Linked DNA regions of Homo sapiens: region 2 is linked to region 1. The links are contacts of gene promoters, found by promoter capture Hi-C in blood cells and fetal thymus (Javierre and others, 2016). All regions are on one chromosome and are shown on one strand. The core of a region is centred on a gene start or on the middle of the fragment in contact, and the rest is flanking DNA. Distances in the headings are between cores, read along the strand shown. Region 1 holds the start of OR5W2 (olfactory receptor family 5 subfamily W member 2). Region 2 holds the start of OR10AG1 (olfactory receptor family 10 subfamily AG member 1).

Region 1 (3,696 bases), core at 1,140-3,639:
TAGCTTTTTTCTTAAAAAGCATGGCCTCAACACATGTTTTCTTTTTTTTTTGAAACGGAGTCTCGCTCTGTTGCCCAGGCTGGAGTGCAATGGCGCAATCTCAGCTCACTGCAAGCTCTGCCTCCCAGGTTCACGCCACTCTCCTGCCTCAGCCTCCCGAGTAGCTGGGACCACAGGCGCCCGCCAACACGCCCAGCTAATTTTTTTGTATCTTTTAGTAGAGACGGGGTTTCACCATGTTAGCCAGGATGGTCTCGATCTCCTGACCTCCCGCCTCGGCCTCCCAAAATGCTGAGATTACAGGCTTGAGCCACCGCGCAGGGCCACGTTTTCTTTTAAATAATCATCTTTGTACATATCAACTATATTAGGAGAAACAGACCTGAAAGTTTGTTTATGTTTATTCTTGGTTGAACATTACCAGCCTAATAAGCAGAAAATATTTAACATCACACAATCACATTTAAAAACATACATTACTCACACATATCTCTGTGCTAGAGATTGTGGGAATGTAGAGAGACACCTAGGCCAACAGACAAATAAAATATAAATTAAGAAAAAGTGTGTTCAATGTGACGGATGTTGTACATCCATAAAATAATTGAAATGAGGGTAGTTGTCACTGTAGTTGGGGAAAAAGTACTCAGACAATGATTAATGAAAAAAAGCAGCATGTTAGATTATCTTATTTCTAAATGGGAGATGAAGGAGATTTTCAGAAGTGGAAGAAACAGGATGAACAATGAAAAGGACAAGAAAACCATTAAGTTGAAAATCTACTCAAGTTTCATTGGCTGTCTTATTTCATGATAACCATGAAGCATACTGTTAAATGAATTCTGATAAATTTCTAACATTGGTCAATTTGGTGATAAAGCTGAAAAATTAAAAATGGAGCCTTTGGTAAACTAGTTGCAGCATTCACTGGGGAAAATACAGAACTAGGAATCTAATTAATCATGTTTGAATAACATAAAGGAGTGAAGGCAGAGGCTTGAGAGATTTATGTCCCAACAGTCACCAGTAAAAATAAAATGTGATCTGCCTATTGTTCACATACCAGAGGTAAGGACAGAAAGACTTGCTCATCTCAGGTAGGTTTCTGAATGATCAATTTAAAGGACAGAGGAAAAATTTTGGAAAAATAAGAAATCATGTATTAAGGAATTTACAAATGAATGATTTTATAGATGCTTACTCAGTTGAAGCACCTCTGGAATCTAATGGCCAAACAATGATATTTTCTTATTGGATCTGTGTGAATTTGACTGACCTTACTTGTCATTGTAAGAGGATAATATAGATTTCACCCATTTATATTTTAATCAACCTTCATAAGTAAATCATTACTTTAAAAAATCACTGTACCTGTGATATTATTTTAGATGTAAATTTAAGATAGGTTCTAGATTTACTCAAATAATAATAGAGGTAACACATTACAGATATTAATTTATGAAAATTCAAGTTCTTAAGGTACATGCCATAATATTTAAGTCTAGAAGAAATAACAATCAGACCCACCCCACATTTCAATTTTCATATAACAGACACACACAGGCACACACACACACACAAGAGTAAGTGCACATATAACACAAGCAACAGAAGCCTATATATTTCAGAAACACTTATTGTTCTTCACATTTTGATTTTAATGAAAAAGTCAATTATAAGCAAATATAAGTAGTCTGTTGTTCACACTTCTTTTACCACTTACATTTGGCTTTTGTTTTTTAGAACCAGATAAGTCATCCAAATGGATTATAAATGCTGTGACAAACCAGTGATGATGAGTAACAGTTAAATAAAACATTTTTCTTTTCCAGTAAGCACTAACGACACCACATCAAAAACAGTACCATAATAATTTTCTCTTATTAACTTACATGTAATATCACTGTCAGTGGTAGAAAAATGTATATATTTCTTGAATAATGCAATAAATATGATCCTTTTTTGTCAAATATATGAGATGCTTAGTCCGGTATGTTCTGGCCCTTGTGACTCTAACTATGGTGTTTCTTTCACATCCTTTTGGATCTGTACTGAGCTTTCAGTTTAATCAAATTGACTGCCTTAGATTGTACAATAGAAGCAAAGACAAATGATATATGTCAGAAATTGCATGTAAGTTTAGATTCAAAGTTGATCAACTTCCTTTGGCAGACACTTTTAGGGTTTTTTTTTTTTAATACAGTAATAATGCCTCTTTGAAAGTGACACTCACCTGGGATACTTTTTGAGGGTAAAGAAGATAATTTACATAAACAAATCTTGTTCTACTTTACAGATAATTTTTTTTTTGATATCTTGGAAAGTCAAGTTCTAGACTGTCATTCTCGTAATGATTTCTGTAGCAGTTTGAAACAAGAACAAGGAAGAATGGACTGGGAAAATTGCTCCTCATTAACTGATTTTTTTCTCTTGGGAATTACCAATAACCCAGAGATGAAAGTGACCCTATTTGCTGTATTCTTGGCTGTTTATATCATTAATTTCTCAGCAAATCTTGGAATGATAGTTTTAATCAGAATGGATTACCAACTTCACACACCAATGTATTTCTTCCTCAGTCATCTGTCTTTCTGTGATCTCTGCTATTCTACTGCAACTGGGCCCAAGATGCTGGTAGATCTACTTGCCAAGAACAAGTCAATACCCTTCTATGGCTGTGCTCTGCAATTCTTGGTCTTCTGTATCTTTGCAGATTCTGAGTGTCTACTGCTGTCAGTGATGGCCTTTGATCGGTACAAGGCCATCATCAACCCCCTGCTCTATACAGTCAACATGTCTAGCAGAGTGTGCTATCTACTCTTGACTGGGGTTTATCTGGTGGGAATAGCAGATGCTTTGATACATATGACACTGGCCTTCCGCCTATGCTTCTGTGGGTCTAATGAGATTAATCATTTCTTCTGTGATATCCCTCCTCTCTTATTACTCTCTCGCTCAGATACACAGGTCAATGAGTTAGTGTTATTCACCGTCTTTGGTTTTATTGAACTGAGTACCATTTCAGGAGTTTTCATTTCTTATTGTTATATCATCCTATCAGTCTTGGAGATACACTCTGCTGAGGGGAGGTTCAAAGCTCTCTCTACATGCACTTCCCACTTATCTGCGGTTGCAATTTTCCAGGGAACTCTGCTCTTTATGTATTTCCGGCCAAGTTCTTCCTATTCTCTAGATCAAGATAAAATGACCTCATTGTTTTACACCCTTGTGGTTCCCATGTTGAACCCCCTGATTTATAGCCTGAGGAACAAGGATGTGAAAGAGGCCCTGAAAAAACTGAAAAATAAAATTTTATTTTAAGGAAATAGTAAAAATACATGTTTATACACACAAAAATGCATATTCATACTGGTGTTTTCTTCAAATTATATATTATAACATAAAGTTGTCTCAAATACCCTAATTTAATATAATACATATTTTACTCAGCCACAATCTAGCAATTCTCTGGAATTGTCTAAATATGCTATTTTTTTAATGTGTTTTCAATTTAGGTAAGGTAATTTCTCTATATTTGAAAAATGCTCCAGTCTTTGAGTTAGTGGGGCAAATTTTTATTTGTTTAATATATATTTCAGAGTAATTTTTCTTTTTTTCTTTTCTTTTTTTTTTTGTGATGGAATCTGACCCTATTGCCCAGGTTGGAGTGTAGTGGTGCAATCTCGGCTCACTGCA
Region 2 (3,302 bases), core at 107-2,606, 55 kb before region 1:
AGGGATGCTGGTATTAGTGTTTTTATAATTAGCATAAATAATAGGAGAGAGACATAAATAGGGGGTGGCTATGGGTGAGTGAGTGCAGGCAAAGTGGCCCGAGAGGCTGCAGTGCAGGGAGGGTGCTGGTGGGCTGGCCTGTGTCTGCACAGGCTACTCTGCTGGATCAGTCTGCTGGTCAGCCGGGGGTCCACCAGCACAGGAGCTATGATGTGGCCCCCAGGAGGTACCTGGCTGGGGGCCAAGCTGGGACCCAGGAGAGGCCAGCAAACTGAGTGGTGCTGAAGTTAGAATAGCCTCATGTAGTGGGTGAGACTGCCGTGCAGAATTCAGGTCCCATAGTTCCCATAGGGCTAAAGCTTCCTACGGGAGCAGGTCAAGCCTGGGGGGATGGGCATCCCTGGCCATGCTCCACTACAGACACTTTCACACTAAACCCTCTGGATTCCACACAGGCTGGAGTTCTGCCCCTACCACTTGTCTAAGCATCTCTCCCTGCCAGTTCAAGTGTTACTTGTGGTCCAGGGGTTTTCTCCTGCTGGGATTCGGAGGCTCATGGAAAGAGAGGGTTGCTCCTTGCCCATTCAACTCATGCTTTTGCAGGAGTCACTGGGGGCCAGGAATGCTTCCTGTGTGTGGTACCCCCATGCAGAATTCCTTTCCTTCTGAAGATTTGCTAGGAGTGCACCAATCTTCCTGATGTCCTGGTCCCTCGTGGGCGATGTTCCTCTTGACTGCGTCTAGTGGGACGTCTTGGAGTGGTATATTACATTTTCAATCAGCTGGATACATTTCCCTGGTGCCTTATAGACAACACAGAATGAAATAAATGTATAGATAGATTTTCTCAGCAGAATTAACATGTTTTAATATCCACAAAAAAAGTTAACCTAGGAACAGAGGGTTCCACATCTGAAAAAGAATCTCACCGTTCAATATGTCGAAGACATCAAGCATATCATGTTCGTGTGATTAAACACATGATATATTTTTTAAAGGTCTAGTTAATTTGGATCTGGATAAATTATTGGAATAGAAGTAAGGCAGACAAATCCACACTAAGTATTAGGGGCCTCAAATACACAGTTGGAAAATTTTTAACTTTTTCCTGAAAGTAATACTAGACAACTAAATGGTATTTAATTAACTCCCCTCATGAGGAGATGAAGAGGAGGATAAGTTTACTTAAAGTAGTTTTGAAAAATGAATCAGAATGATTGACAAACAGAAGCAGCCTTCTAGAAATTAAACTGATACTCAAGAGAAGACACATCCCAGGTTGAGTCTGACTATTCCTATATAAGAGCTGTTGCTGTTTGAAACAAGCAAGCGTATTGCAAAATTACAGTTCCCGAGAAAAGGAAGAGCTTAAAAAGTCTGTACAGACAGCTTCATGCAAATCCCTAAAGGTAAGCCATAATTGGGTTGACAGACTATTTTATTTAAGAATAGTTACAAGTTTGTGGATAGAAATGCAACTAATAAAACAGAAAAGCATGAAATTTTGAGACCTTTATCTGAAAATTAATTATTTAACATTTAAATCATGTATCTCTTCACTACAAAGTTAAATAAAATTAGATGTCCAATAATGGTAAAATTGCATTAGTGATGAAAAGTCATTTAAGGCAATTTTGAAAACTAGTACTAATAGAAATGTATAAATATGAGATAGTATTTGTCTGATCACTTTCATTTATCAACGTATTAAGTCAAATGCATTGGCTGACCGGGCTAAAATAGGTATAGGTGCAGCAGATTTGAAGACACAGAAAAAAAGAATTTGTTTAGAAAGTTGGAGAACAAACGTTAAGCAAGTGTAATGGGAATTGACAAGCAGTGATTTCCTCATATTGGATGACATTGACATGAAGTGAAGCAAGACAGTGTGTTTTTGTTTTGTTTTGTTTAATTTTTTGGTCCCATTTATATGCTCTGGCCACTTAGATGGCCAGAGTAAATGTTAGCTGGGTTTAATCAAAGAATTTTACTTTAATAAGGCAACAGGATGAAGGGAAAATAGAGAGAAGGAATTGTATTTGGTTGAAAGGAACTGTATTTGGTTATATGACAATGGAGAAATTCACTTAGATAAAAAAAAGAAATGTAAAAAAAATTGTGATGAATTTCTACATCTTGATTAAGTTATAATTTAATTACTATTTAGCATTCACTGTATTCAGGGCAATAACAGGGGAAGTCAATAAACTGCCTACTGGTATTAGTGTTTTTATATTTAGCATAAATAATAGGAGAGAGACATGAAGTAGAGCAACAATAATGCATGTATTTAGTCTCTCAGTAACCAAGAAATTGTTTAAGATAATTGATTCTCACTGGTGCATAAAAGGAAAAGTTTAAAATTCATTTTGAGTATGAATTAATCGTAATATTCAAGGGCAACATTTTGAATTAAAAAAACTGGAATATGACTACCAATACAAAGAAAAATGATATTCTCAGATGAAATAGTAAAAGCCTACACTATAACTCTACTCTTAAGTGTGAAATAATAAGATGTTATTCCTCCATAATATTTTCTAAACAACAATGCATGCTTCTCAATGCCTCTGGTTGCATTATATCCCAGTATAATAAAATATATTGAGGTTTCATTTCTTAAATTGATTTTAATGCTAAATCAGTTTATTATCTAGAAACAGAGCAAGTACTGGTGAAAATGACTTAAGAGCTTAAGTAAGTATATTCCTGTATCTCATTTAGTTAACCCAAGAGGAAAATATTGTTCAAAATATGGATGAATTAACTGTCTTGAATTTGCTATATCTGCAGATGGAGAGCAAACTAAAAGAGAAAAATCAAATGTGACTACAATAATGGAATTTGTTCTTTTGGGGTTTTCTGATATTCCCAATCTCCACTGGATGCTTTTTAGTATATTTTTACTTATGTATTTGATGATCCTGATGTGCAATGGCATCATAATACTACTAATAAAAATTCACCCCGCTCTCCAGACTCCCATGTATTTTTTTCTTAGCAATTTTTCCCTTTTGGAAATCTGTTATGTAACAATCATTATCCCAAGAATGCTCATGGACATTTGGACTCAGAAAGGAAATATTTCTTTGTTTGCTTGTGCTACACAAATGTGTTTTTTTCTTATGCTTGGAGGCACGGAGTGTCTCCTTCTGACAGTGATGGCCTATGACCGCTACGTGGCTATTTGTAAGCCTTTGCAGTATCCTCTAGTGATGAACCACAAAGTCTGCATTCAGCTGATAATAGCTTCCTGGACCATCACAATTCCTGTAGTAATTGGGGAAACATGCCAAATTTTC

What was found. Contacts are between HindIII fragments. The CHiCAGO score rates a contact against its expected background, and 5 or more counts as called.
Region 2: a contact is called between the fragment with the promoter of OR10AG1 here and the fragment with the promoter of OR5W2 in region 1, in 1 of 17 cell types (neutrophils). The highest score is 5.5, in neutrophils.

Annotation. Positions count from the first base shown.
Region 1 is chr11:55,913,275-55,916,970 of GRCh38, reverse strand. OR5W2 (olfactory receptor family 5 subfamily W member 2) reads left to right here and starts at 2,389. Exons shown (of 1, transcript NM_001001960.1): 1 at 2,389-3,321. The coding sequence starts at 2,389. The coding sequence ends at 3,321. The HindIII fragment of the contact is 7,753 bases long and covers 1-3,696 here.
Region 2 is chr11:55,967,999-55,971,300 of GRCh38, reverse strand. It overlaps OR10AG1 (olfactory receptor family 10 subfamily AG member 1), which reads left to right and starts at 1,356. Exons shown (of 2, transcript NM_001005491.2): 1 at 1,356-1,409; 2 at 2,794-3,302. The coding sequence starts at 1,394. The HindIII fragment of the contact is 3,009 bases long and covers 362-3,302 here.